Regions from separate parts of the Homo sapiens genome. Here regions 1 and 3 are each linked to region 2. The links are contacts of gene promoters, found by promoter capture Hi-C in blood cells and fetal thymus (Javierre and others, 2016). All regions are on one chromosome and are shown on one strand. Each heading gives the region's core, a stretch centred on a gene start or on the middle of the fragment in contact. The rest is flanking DNA. Distances are from core to core; before and after follow the strand shown. Region 1 overlaps DSE (dermatan sulfate epimerase). Region 2 holds the start of CALHM5 (calcium homeostasis modulator family member 5). Region 3 overlaps DSE (dermatan sulfate epimerase).

Region 1 (4,212 bases), core at 481-2,980, 110 kb before region 2:
TCCTTACTTGAACAAATATTATACATTTTCCCTTAGTCCAAAATTCTGTTTTCCATAATGAATACAATTCTGATGTAGTATGTTTAACTCTATAAAATCAGAACTTTAGTAATTTTCTTCCTAATTAAATTTTTTTGTTGTATTTTTAAAAATCTAAATTCATAAGCTTTATTTTCACATATGGTTTCTACCTCTTATATGTTTCCACACCTGTGCCATGTTCCCTTGGCTGACAGACACTTTTTTTCCTTTTTATCTCACGTAGGATCTTTCGAAGATGGTTTGGCTGCCTTGGAGATTTGGAGATCTGATGCCACGATGAGGACTCACACACGGGGGGCTCCCAGTGTGTTTTTCATATATTTGCTTTGCTTTGTGTCAGCCTACATCACCGACGAGAACCCAGAAGTTATGATTCCCTTCACCAATGCCAACTACGACAGCCATCCCATGCTGTACTTCTCCAGGGCAGAAGTGGCGGAGCTGCAGCTCAGGGCTGCCAGCTCGCACGAGCACATTGCAGCCCGCCTCACGGAGGCTGTGCACACGATGCTGTCCAGCCCCTTGGAATACCTCCCTCCCTGGGATCCCAAGGACTACAGTGCCCGCTGGAATGAAATTTTTGGAAACAACTTGGGTGCCTTGGCAATGTTCTGTGTGCTGTATCCTGAGAACATTGAAGCCCGAGACATGGCCAAAGACTACATGGAGAGGATGGCAGCGCAGCCTAGTTGGTAGATTTTTGTCTTGTTCTTCTTACTGTGGTAACTCTGCATTAGAAAGAAACAAATCCATATGACATCTCAGTGGCCAGATCTTCATGTACCTCTTTGTGTATGTGTGTGGGGGGAGGTGTTATTTGTTATTTGTGTTGCCAGTCTTATGAATGGCCCTTAGTTTCAAAAGATGTAGTAACTTCCATGTTTAAAGTTAGAAGGAAAATATTTAGATGCAGCCTAATCTAAAGAAAAAATAATTTGCTGAATTGAGTAAAGAGTATCATCGTGATTGCTGAGAATTCTTTCTTCCATATTCAGCATGTATATATTACTATCATCTGGTGTTAGGTTTGATTGATCCCAAGTAGTTAAAACATTTTGCAGCAAGACATTTCAAGTAATTAAGACTTACTTGCATTTTATGATCGTAAGGAACTAAATGTGAATGGGATGGGACTGACTGGCAATTTATAAACACATCCCCTCCAATAACCAGCAGATTTCTGAGACCTGTAGGAAAACCAACATTATTGTGTAATTGTGTGAGGAATTCTAACTACATAATAATTTAGTTTCGAAGTTTAAGATTTGAGAACAAATTCCTGTCTTTTCGATTAGCTTAAATTTATTTGATTAATTTATAATTAATGCTTCATATGCTTCCAAACAGATATGGGATGAGTTGATTAAACAAGGGATTCTACAGATGTTTTTACTCATGCAATTTTTAAATACACATTTATGGTTCAATTGCAATAAAAGAATTTACAGATTGATGAAATTTTTTTAAAAAATTACATAAGCTGCCTCTTGTCATAGGGCTAGAGAGAGCTCATTTTAAATGCTTAGAAAAAAATCAGTGAATGCACCTAATGCTATGATGAATTACATCTTAACATATCACAGGGGTGAAGGATGGTGGTTTGCAAGCTTTCCGATAAATTTCTGGAATTTTGTAATGAAAAGTATTATGCAAGAGTTGGCATTAAATCCATATCAGAGCTGATATTTTAGGCCTGTTGCTAAGTACATGTAGTCATTTTGAAGTTTATAATATTGTAGGTTGAAAAGAATTTTTTATTTGATTTATTTCAAAGCTTAGCCATGTATGTAGTTGTTTCTGACTTTGACTGACATTAACTGATCTTATTCTATTCTTGACACCAAGAAAGAAAAGATGTATGAAAACTTATCTGATATTTGAATTACCAGATTACATTATCAAATGCTACAGTAACTCACTGATTGATTTGTTCAATTAGTTTAAAATAGCAACCATATTTACATTATTTAGAAAGAAACCTTTGTCATCTAGAAGGGTACTTTAAAGTCCTTTTTGTTTTAGATAAGTAGATTTTGGCAAATTAAGAAATTGATGTAAATGTTCCAGAGATAGAGCCTGTAGAGAACCGTGTATTTAATCTCACAAGAAAGTAATGGACTGTGAAATACCATTTTTGATGGAGATTGTTTAGCACAATACAGTAACATGAGAATTGTACAAGACTAGTACAGTTTTCTCATTATAATGTAAAATATTTGGGTATATAAATACCAATGAATGAATGCTGCCATTAGGATGAGACTCCTTCTATGAAAAGAGAAATAAATAACTTGAAAGAAATATTATAATTTTTACATAGTTTCCACAAGTCCAGATTTATTGATCACTGGAGGTGTATAGAAACTTACTAGGGGTCTAGTACTTTATTCATGGCAATATTGATAGAAATAGGTATAACTCTAGGCCATTATCTAGTAAACTAAAAGCCAATTTTTGACTTAATAGAGCTGAACAGTTGACTTCTTTCTCTTGACCTTCAAGGTAAAATCTTGAGAATTTACCTTTACATCTGGTTTCTAGTTGCAAAAGTGAACTTGGCTTAGAAAGTTGAGCTACTTGAACATTTTGTTTTGGCAGGTACTATTATTAAGTTGTGTTGTTTAATAACTTCACAGAAATTTTAACTTCTTAAAAACTACCACACCCAACCCTTAGACTTTTAAACTTTCATTTAGATTTGTGGTTGAACACAATTACAACACAATTATGTGCTGTAATAATTTAAAACAATGTTCAGTGATTTTACAGTTCAACTACCTCTGTTTCAATTGCTCCATTAAATCATATTCTCACTATGTACCAAGAAGTACACAATGAGTATTGTCATTGACTTAGGATATAATTCACCTATATTTGATTTCAGAAAAAACAAAAACAAAAAACTAGCTGTTACTTACAAAAGAGATCAATAATTGATATTATGAAAGTAAAAAAAAAAAAACTTTCTACAATAGCTTCATCAGGCTGAATGCATTTTCCATTTTCTTTGAAGAGCATTTTTACTCTTTTGAAAGCCAGTTACTAAGTTATGTTCATTCACTGATTCATTTGATCAACAAACGTTTATTGAGCATCTACTGTGTATCATGCACTGTGCTAGGGTGCTGGGGATTCAAAGTTGAAGAAATAGCCCAGTAATTTTATAATTTTTACCTATGGCAAAGGGTACAAACATTGGGTTCTTAAAGCCTAAGCTAAGGATATTTTCTCTGCTCAGAATTGAGTGTGTGGATCATTTCATAAGGAGTTTCCTTAGTTTTCATTCATGACTTAAACATTTGTATCATGCTGCACCCTAGTGTGGTAGAAAAGCACCAACTCTGGAGTCACACTGCCTTTGAATCCCAGCTCCCTCACTCTTCAGCTATGTTAATTTTCTTAATTAACTTTCCAGATTAATTTTCTTAATTTGCGTGAGCATTAGTGTCCTGATGTATAATGTGGCAGTAACAACCCTATCTACCTTATAGGGTTGCTAGGAAGATTAAGTGCAATAATCAATGTAAAGTACTTAGCACAGTTCTTGTCTCATAGTAAGCCCTCAGTAAATGAGAATAATGACAATAATGGTAATTATTGATGCTGTTCTTTTACCTACCTAGTAATTAGACCCTGTTTGGTTTATAATTTGGTATATGTAGGCTCCAAGGAAATAGTATCCATTTAGGATTTTACTAATCTTAATTGCTCTCAAAACTAGAACATCTGTTTAACTCATAAAATTTTCCCCTTGGCTTTTTCCATTAAAACGTTCATTGATGCTCCCCTGGGCCCTTTTTAAAATGTATACAAGAATCTAATGTTAACACCAATGAAGAAGGTTTAGTGGAAAGTAACAATGATGTGTCATTTGTCTGGTATTAAAAAGAAGTGCCTATGAGATATACATGCATACAAATTTATTAATGGGGTTCATTTCATTTGAATAGTAAATAAAGAGGTTAAAGTTCACCTCTATAGATTCACTTAAGAATTCTGAAGCAGAAACGTTAAAGGGAAAATATTCAATTGTACTCTGTCCATCTAATAGCCTACAAAGTAGAACGGGAATCTCATAGATTTATAATTATAATGGTGATTGAAAAATAACAGCATGCATTTTTATTGTGTGTGTCTCTGAGTATCCAGACGACTGGGCACCGCAGAATG
Region 2 (4,192 bases), core at 89-2,588:
GAGACAGGGTCTTGCTCTGTCACCCAGACTGGAATGCAGTGGCATGATTTGGCTCACCACAACCTCAGCCTCCTGGGCTCAAGCGATCCTCCCATCTCTGCCTCCTGAGTAGCTGGGACTACAGGTGCATGCCACCGAGCCTGGCTAATTTTTTTTTGGTATTTTTTTGTAGAGAGGGAGATTCACCATGTTGCCTAGGCTGGTCTCGTACTCCTTGGCTCAAGCAATCCACCTGCCTCGACCTCCCAAAATGCTAGGATTACAGACATGAACCACGGCACCTTTCTTTCATTCTTAAAGAAAGAACTTTAAGTACTAAAAGTAGATCTACTATTCAGTCCAGCAATCCCACTACTGGGTATCTATCCAAAGAAAAAGAAGTCATTATATATTAAAAAAAAACACCTGCACATGTATATTTATTGCAACACAATTCACAATTGCAAAGATATGAAACCAATCTAAGTACCCATCAACTGATGAATAGATAAAGAAACTGTGGTGTATATATACCATGGAATACTACTCAGTCATAAAAAAGAATGAAATAATGTCTTTTGCAGCAACTTGATGGAGCTAGAGGCGTTATTCCAAGCGAAGTAACTCGGAAATAGAAAACCAAAAACTGTAGTTCTCACTTATAAGTGGAAATTAAGCTATGGGTACGTAAAGGCATATGGAGTGGTATAATGGACTTTGGAGACTCAGAAAGAGGGAGAGTGGGAAGGGGGTGAGGGATAAAAAAATACATATTGGGTACACATACATATCCGGTGATGGGTGCACTAAAATCTCATATATATATGTATATATATATATATGTATATTTATATGTATATTTCATCCATGTAACCAAAACCCACTTGTGCTCCAAAAGCTATTGATATATATATATATATATAATTTTCATATGTTTTTATATATATGAAAAAAGACAGCAAATCCCTGTCTTCCAAATCTCAAGTCATAGGAAGAGAAAAACATTCATAAAATTCTAGGTTTGGAGATTTGATTTGTCGGCTGAAACCTCTTTCTGTTAATGTTGATTCCTTACACTGGAAAATTCCTAGACTATTATTTGTATGAGTGAGAATTTCTTTTCTGATTTTCAATCCAAACCACATGGAAAGAAGGTTAAAATGGAGCCCGTGCACTTTGAATTTATTCTCAGCATTTAGGCTGCAGTATCACAGCCCAATTTCCACCAGTAGGAGGCATTATCTAAACATGTTGAGAAATATTCATTCCTAAGGAATGACATTGTTTCCTTATCTGGCTCAATTCAGTCTGAGAAGGACTGTTGTTTCTGATGAAGAAAGAGCTCCACCCTCGGCCACTGCCACAGCTGCTCTGCCAATAACAAAGGCACAGCATTTTCCCTCTGTGCATCTCCAACATGGATGCTTTTCAGGGCATTTTAAAATTCTTCCTTAATCAGAAAACTGTTATTGGCTACAGCTTCATGGCTCTGCTGACCGTGGGAAGTGAGCGTCTCTTTTCTGTTGTGGCTTTTAAGTGCCCCTGCAGCACTGAGAATATGACCTATGGGCTGGTTTTCCTCTTTGCTCCTGCCTGGGTGTTACTGATCCTGGGATTCTTTCTGAACAATAGGTCGTGGAGACTCTTCACAGGCTGCTGTGTGAATCCCAGGAAAATCTTTCCCAGAGGCCACAGCTGCCGTTTCTTCTACGTCCTCGGCCAGATCACTCTGAGCTCATTGGTGGCTCCAGTGATGTGGCTTTCTGTGGCTCTGCTCAATGGAACTTTCTATGAATGTGCCATGAGCGGGACGAGAAGTTCAGGACTCCTGGAACTGATTTGCAAGGGTAAGCCCAAAGAGTGCTGGGAAGAACTTCACAAAGTATCTTGTGGCAAAACTAGCATGCTACCTACCGTCAATGAAGAACTGAAACTCTCCCTTCAGGCCCAGTCTCAGGTAAGAAAAGACAAACTCGCCTTTTTCTCTCAGCATGAGCTCGAAGTATTCTCTCTGTGCTCCTTTCAGCCAGGGCTGTCTGTGTCCTGTCAGAATATTTTGAAACTAAATGGAAACTGAAACATGATGCAGCATTGAGACTATCTCAGGAAAAGCTTTTGAAAGGCTGGGTGGCTCAATAAAGTTGCTGACTGGATTATCTCTTTTCCGGTTCTGAAAAGAAAATATCCACTGGATTGTCCACATATAAATACTTAAGTACTTTAAAACAGTCTCTCTGGGTCTGTAAATAAATAATGCCTAACACTAAATCATAAATTGAGTGTTAATGGCAGAGCTGTAATTAGAAATTACTGCCTTCTATCAATTATTTACATTCAAGTTGTTTTCTCAAACACACACATGTATTATTCATCTATTAAAATGTAGCTGAATGAAATGAGTTATTACTTTTCAAAGTTGCATGTAATATAATTAGTGTGGAGATTCTCTTGAATGATTTCTGGCAACTGCTATCTCTGTGTATAAATATTGTCAAGATTGAGAAGAATTTTCCTTGTATGGTAGGAATCAGCAGTTTTTAAATAGCCTTCTGTGAAAAAGTGACTGTACTCTCTAGGGAGATTATGTTTTATACTCTTTGTGCTGTACAGCTAAAGGGGTTCTTAATTACTTCAGAAGCTCAAGATTTGGGCATTGTTTTATTTAACAGAAGGAAATCATATCTTTACCTAATTGATGCAGGGAAGTAGCCTGTCATTCCTCCAGGCACATGAACACAAATCCAGATGTACAGCCTTAGGAAGGACTAACTTCCCATTTATAGGTAGTAAGAATTGCATTCCCAAAAGCAAAACAAGTGGTAAGAGTTGATAAGCAGATCCACAAATTGTCAGGAATGCTATCTGTTTCAGAATAAAGGCACAGAAATAGCATTATTTTACTTTTTCGACAAGGATTTGCCTTGGTAACAACAAATCAAGGCAAAATCTGTTTTTAAAATCATACACTCCAAAGCTGGTTGGCAGTAAAGTCATACTCTTCATAAATTGATAAGTCAAAAAATACTCCAAAACAAAATCTTTTCTTTAATGCATAAAGCACATCTTAGATAAAACATATCAGGCTCCCAAATGTCTTGTGTCTTTTATTGAAGAAGGGTATAACTTACAACTCTTATGACAGAATGATTGATTTATGGTGTATGTCCTCAGTCACCAGGCTCCATTCAGTCAGTGGCAGGCCCAAACACTTATCATTGTGTGAGCTTCTCCTCTCTAAACACAGGTACAAGGAAATCTTGCACATCATGTCATAGCTTAGGCTGAGCACACTGACCTGCTGATTCTTCATCAGAATGAGAAGGACCTGGGGCTGATTCCTGTGGGAAGATGCATAAGGAATGTGGGCAAGAGAACTTGTATCAATAGCAGGTGCTGACTACAGAGGTTCAGATAGGCAGGAGGCAGCATATAGTCCAGACCAACAATAGGTGTACATGTGCCTGGAGGCGGAAAAGAACATTCATCCATGGGTGGGGCAGATAAAAAATCTAGCTGGATGACTCTCTATTCTTAAGGAAGATAGAATGGAGTAGTGGAAAGAGCTCAGTCTTGGAATTGTCTGGCGTTGGGTTTGTATGCTGATGCTACCAATCACCAGCTATGTGACCTAGAACTAGTGGTTCGACCTCTTTGAGTCCCAGTTTTCTCATAGTTAGTGGTAATATCACTTACTTTGGAGAGTTGTCGGAAGATTTAGAGATGATAGATACAAATGGGCATAAAGCTTCTGGTACACAGTATTTGTTCCAAGTCAATGAGGAAAACTGCCATGGTTTGGGGGAGGACATATGCAAAATAAGACACTTTTGAGGGCTGGTATGGAAGCATCCACCAAGCTCTAGTTTGACTCTGGGTACTGTGAATTGAGGGAAAGCATCGGTCAATGCAAACGTCATGTGAAAGGGGGAAGGGGACCTGAAGCTGATGGAATAGTTTATAATTCAGCTGGAACTGGCTCAGGTACTGAGATGAGATGGCGTACAGAAGCCTCAGCTGTGGAAAAAGAGGAAGACAGACGATGAAGGAAGGAGGAACATATAAGGTAGCCAACCACAATCCATTCAGGGACTTTCACTTGATGGTAGTTGTGCCTCACTCATTAATTATAAGTACAGAAAGATATTATGAGTTCAGTAACACATTTACATAAGTGTATATATATTTGAAGAATAGCAGCATATAATATTAGCTA
Region 3 (4,359 bases), core at 918-3,417, 90 kb before region 2:
TTTAAAATGGAGGGAAAAAAGATGAATCACTACTGCATTAGTCATGTTTTTAAAAGGAGTGGTAATACATGACTGTCTTAACTTATTGGAGTTTGTTTCCAAACACACAAAGGTGTTTGGTTGAAAGTTAAATGGTTTTCTATCAAGTTACTGTGTTCAGGAGACTTTTAGAATGAATAGAATAATTTACATTTTTAAAATAGAGTTGACCTAATTCTGGCCTATTTTAATGGTGTGCCCAAGTGCACGTGGACAGAGGTGTGGCATATGTACAGTAGACACAGCTGCAGCAAAGCTGGCAAATGGGAAGCTGGTGGTGCACTACCCTGGTACTTTTAGAGTTTGCAATTTCTAAGGAGTTCACTGTTGTGTTCTGAATGTAAATTTATAATTTTTGTAAAGCTTGTTTCATTTTAACTTAAATTTGTAGTTCCATAACTATCTACTGTATAAAATCAGATTTTAAACGCAAATCTTCTACTTTATGAATTTACGAAGTAAATATTTTATAGGTTGGTAAAACTATAGTTATTCTGAAAATGAGAAAAAGAAGATGGATCATTTTATTGGAGTTATCCTCCTTTGTTGGAAAGGTCTGACAAATCATAAAGTCTCATTTAAATACACTTTAAAAAATATGTAGATTTGCCTATACTGTGGATCAAATTGTGATCTTTGGAGCATAGCTACATATGGAAAAGCCTGCTATAAAGTTGTTAGGTTCTGAAAAGTACTAGGAAATAGGATTAATTATAAAGGGAATTATGAGTTCTATTGTTTCTAGTATTTGTTTCTTGTATACTGTTGATTAATTTAAATAAGTATGAGTGATCTCTTGGCACATCTTTGTTTTCAAAGACCTAATTTCTTTTTATTGTAAGTGTTTATTTTAGCAGTATTTGTGTAAATTAAATAGACAGTTGCTATGAACTGAATGGGACCCTCCTCAAAATTTATATTGAAGCCCTAACCCCTTATGTGGAAGTATTTAGAGAAAAGGGCCTATAGGAGAGAATTAGATTTAGATGGAGGTCCTAAAGGTGGGGCTCTCATGATAGGATAAGTGCCCTGATAAGAAGCGGTGCCAGAGAGCTTGTACTCTTGTGCACTCTCTCTCACGCTTGCCTTATCCCCACACCATACATCTAGGACAGGCCAGGTGAGCACACAGTAAGATGGCGGCGGCCTTCTAAAAGCCAGGAACAGAGCTCTCACCAAAACCTGACCATGCGGGCACCCTGATGTCAGACCTTCAGCTTCCAGAACTTGTAAAAAATAAATTTCTGTTGTTTAAGCTACCCAGTCTATGGCATTTTGTTATGGCAGCCTGGGCTAAGACAACAGTATACAAATTTAAATAATATTCTGTGAACCTTGCAATGTTAAATTTTAATCTTTTCACAGGCAGTTATTTTCTATAGACTGTCTATATCAAAACTATATGAAAATTTTAAAAATAGAAGCATTTAATCACTTGCAGTTCAAATCTATACCAATAAAAATAGATAGCAACATTGTTTTTAGGGTTCCTTTTAATGGTTATTTAATCAAATAAACTGTCACCTTTTTAGTGATACAGACTTCTTCGATTGCCAACTATTATACTCCATACATAATATTTTAAAAAGCATTTATGATAATAGAAGCAGTCTATCCCTTTAAAATTGGTACAAAAATTTGGATTAATGAGACTGCTCAACTTTGGAAAAATAGTTATGGCTCATTCTTCCTTTCAGAATCACAACTTAATTCATAGACACAGCACATCATGACCAAACTCTATGCCTTTCCCCACCAACATTCCACCCTTACACTCAGAAAATCAATAGCTCTTTCCTGTGTTCAGATTAATTTATTTCATATAAATTCACCTTTGAAAATATTCAAAGTATCAGTTTTTAAACTTTTTGGACTTGGAAGCACTTTGTACTCTTAAAAATTAATGAGGACATCAAACAGCTTTGTTTATTTGGGCTGTATCTATCAAAGTTTACCATATTAGAAATTAAAACTGAGAAGTTTGAAACATTTATTTGTTCATTTACTCATATTTATATATTGTCAAAGCTCATTTCATATTAACATAAACATATTTTAGGAAAAAATAACTATATATACATATATATATATATATATATATTTTTTTTTTTTTTTTTTTTTTTTTTTTAGGTACAGGGTCTCACTGTGTCACCCAGCCTGGAGTGCAGTGGTGCAGTCATAGCTCACTGCAGCTTTGAACTTCTGGGCTCCAGCAATCTTGCTGCCTCAGCCTCCTAAGCTGGGACTTCAGGTGCATGCCACCAGGCCCAGCTAATTTTTAAAAAATTATTTTGTGTACAGACAGTTTTGCTATGTGGAACTCCTGGGCTCAGGCAATCCTCCTACCTTGGCCTCCTAAAGCACTAGGATTACAGGCATAAGCCACTGTACCCAGCCAAACTATATTTTTTTAAAACAAAAAATAGAAGGAAGGTGTTGTTTTACATCTTTGCAAATCTTATGTGTCTGCTTCTGCACTTGATTTGTTGCTATGTGTTTTTTTGGTTGAAGTATGTGAAGAAAATCCAGCCTCACAGGAATATGTGATTGACAAGGGAGGAGTATTTTAATAATCTTTTCAAATAATTGTGAATATTCTTCTTTGACGCTACACTAAAACTTGACTGATAGTGGTTCCATAAAAATTAATTTCAGTATAGAATCTGAAGCCATGTTAATGAACTCTTCATACTCTTTTACATTAAAATCCATTGGCATATTTTACACTTAGGAGTGGCTGTCTTATCGGTGCATGGTTTTATAACATCATGCCTTTGTTATTTTGCATGTGTGTTCACTGAGTTATTTCAGTCTACCGAATGTTGACACATTTAATTATACAATATAAAAATCATGTTTGTTGATGTTCTTACTGATTTCATCAGAAAAATCTTTAAGTATTGGTAAGCTCTTAAGCTCTTGGTAGTGGATGCAAATTTTCCAAAATTCTTATTTCCAGTTGAAAGCTCCAAGTTTGTCATTGGCAACAAAGGCTTTCAGCTTTCCTTGAACTGGCAGGCCTTCCTTGTTTATTTTCAAGAATATTTCTGTGCTAACACCCAAATTGAGATAACTATAATTTGTCAGTTGATCATTCTGTCATGTAAAAATGTTTCATGAAAAAACCGAGCTAGCTCAGCTCTCAACTCAGTGCATGACTTCTTTTGTTTGTAACGTTCTTGTACTTTGGTACTCCGTTTAATCACATAGGATATTAGAAAGATGTATACTCAAAGAGTTGAGATTTTATAAAGATTAATCACTTTTACCACTTCATCAAGGACATTTTTAAATAAAATTGGCTTTAAAAATTAAACAACAACAACAACAAAAACCTGAGTGCATGGCAGTGCAAAATCATACAAGGACTACTAGGGCAGTTTAGTGCCCCTGCTTGGATTCTTGCTAAGGTTACAGCAGTTTTACTTAATACTGCTTTTGTACCATCAGTGCAAATATCAACATATAACATCTTTACGTTATTATGAAAATGATTCTTATTTGTGAATTCTCTAAAATGTAATAGTCTCGGAAGCCCCTCCCTGGGCCTTACTTTGAGAACAGCTGCTCTAAGGGGTGAAACTGTAGTTTACAAAAGAGGAATAGTGTAAATATTTCCTCAGTTAACCTCCTCTTAACTAACTTGCCAGTGAACCCAGCTTCCATTCCTTGTGTAACACAGTAGCTGAATGTCAGGACTTGTAGGTTGCCCTTTACTTTACATTTATTTCTTTTCCCCCCAGTAGAGTTACCGGCTGAGCAAGTGTCAGCTGTATTTGTTCTCAAACCAGGTAATACAGTTTCCCTAATACCTGTAATGAGACAGTTTTAATAATACCAATAGATAAAGTGTGAGTTCAAAAAGAAAAAGCTAATATTTCTAGAACCAACCTAAAAGCTTTGGAATAACTTACTGTAAAAAATTGCTGTCATGATATAGTGTGATTGAGATTTGTAGAAGATTAGGGAAAAACTCATAAAAATCTAGAAGGCTTCTGCGTTCCCTCACAGGTATCTTTAATTTCTTCCTATATAATAAAGAAAACAAAGCTGGAAATTGTGGTGATGTGTTATGTGTGTTCTTTGCAGGAAAGAACAATGAAACTCCATCTGTAGACCCATATTCAGAGAATAGGTTTTGGCTCACCTTCAAAAGATTGGTGAATCTGTGTACACATGGATATATTTTAAGTTGAAGCACAATTCATAAATTAATGTCTGTCTGTTTTTTTAAAAAATAATTTCCCACTTCACCACCATTCACAGTGAACTGATTTATTACTGGTCAGGATCACATTGAATAAGATAGTTTCTCAGCTG

Evidence for each region. The method cuts DNA at HindIII sites, captures the fragments that hold promoters and counts their contacts. A CHiCAGO score of 5 or more calls a contact.
Region 1: a fragment that was not itself captured here is called in contact with the fragment with the promoter of CALHM5 in region 2 in 3 of 17 cell types (total B cells, naive B cells and M0 macrophages); the score reaches 7.7 in total B cells.
Region 3: a fragment that was not itself captured here is called in contact with the fragment with the promoter of CALHM5 in region 2 in 4 of 17 cell types (naive B cells, total B cells, neutrophils and 1 more); the score reaches 10.4 in naive B cells.

The regions. Positions count from the first base shown.
Region 1 is chr6:116,398,933-116,403,144 of GRCh38, forward strand. It overlaps DSE (dermatan sulfate epimerase), which reads left to right. Exons shown (of 6, transcript NM_013352.4): 2 at 266-734. The coding sequence starts at 319. Among named protein-coding and RNA genes, the nearest start is that of DSE, 30 kb to the left of the region's middle. RefSeq lists enhancers at 19-519, 520-1,020. The HindIII fragment of the contact is 167 bases long and covers 1,648-1,814 here.
Region 2 is chr6:116,510,301-116,514,492 of GRCh38, forward strand. It overlaps CALHM5 (calcium homeostasis modulator family member 5), which reads left to right and starts at 1,339. Exons shown (of 2, transcript NM_153711.5): 1 at 1,339-1,936. The coding sequence starts at 1,397. All of the region lies in intron 3 of TRAPPC3L (trafficking protein particle complex subunit 3L), which reads right to left. RefSeq lists an enhancer at 1,050-1,631. The HindIII fragment of the contact is 2,544 bases long and covers 1-2,089 here.
Region 3 is chr6:116,419,325-116,423,683 of GRCh38, forward strand. The region is part of intron 2 of DSE (dermatan sulfate epimerase); the gene reads left to right. Among named protein-coding and RNA genes, the nearest start is that of CALHM6, 40 kb to the right of the region's middle. The HindIII fragment of the contact is 3,535 bases long and covers 401-3,935 here.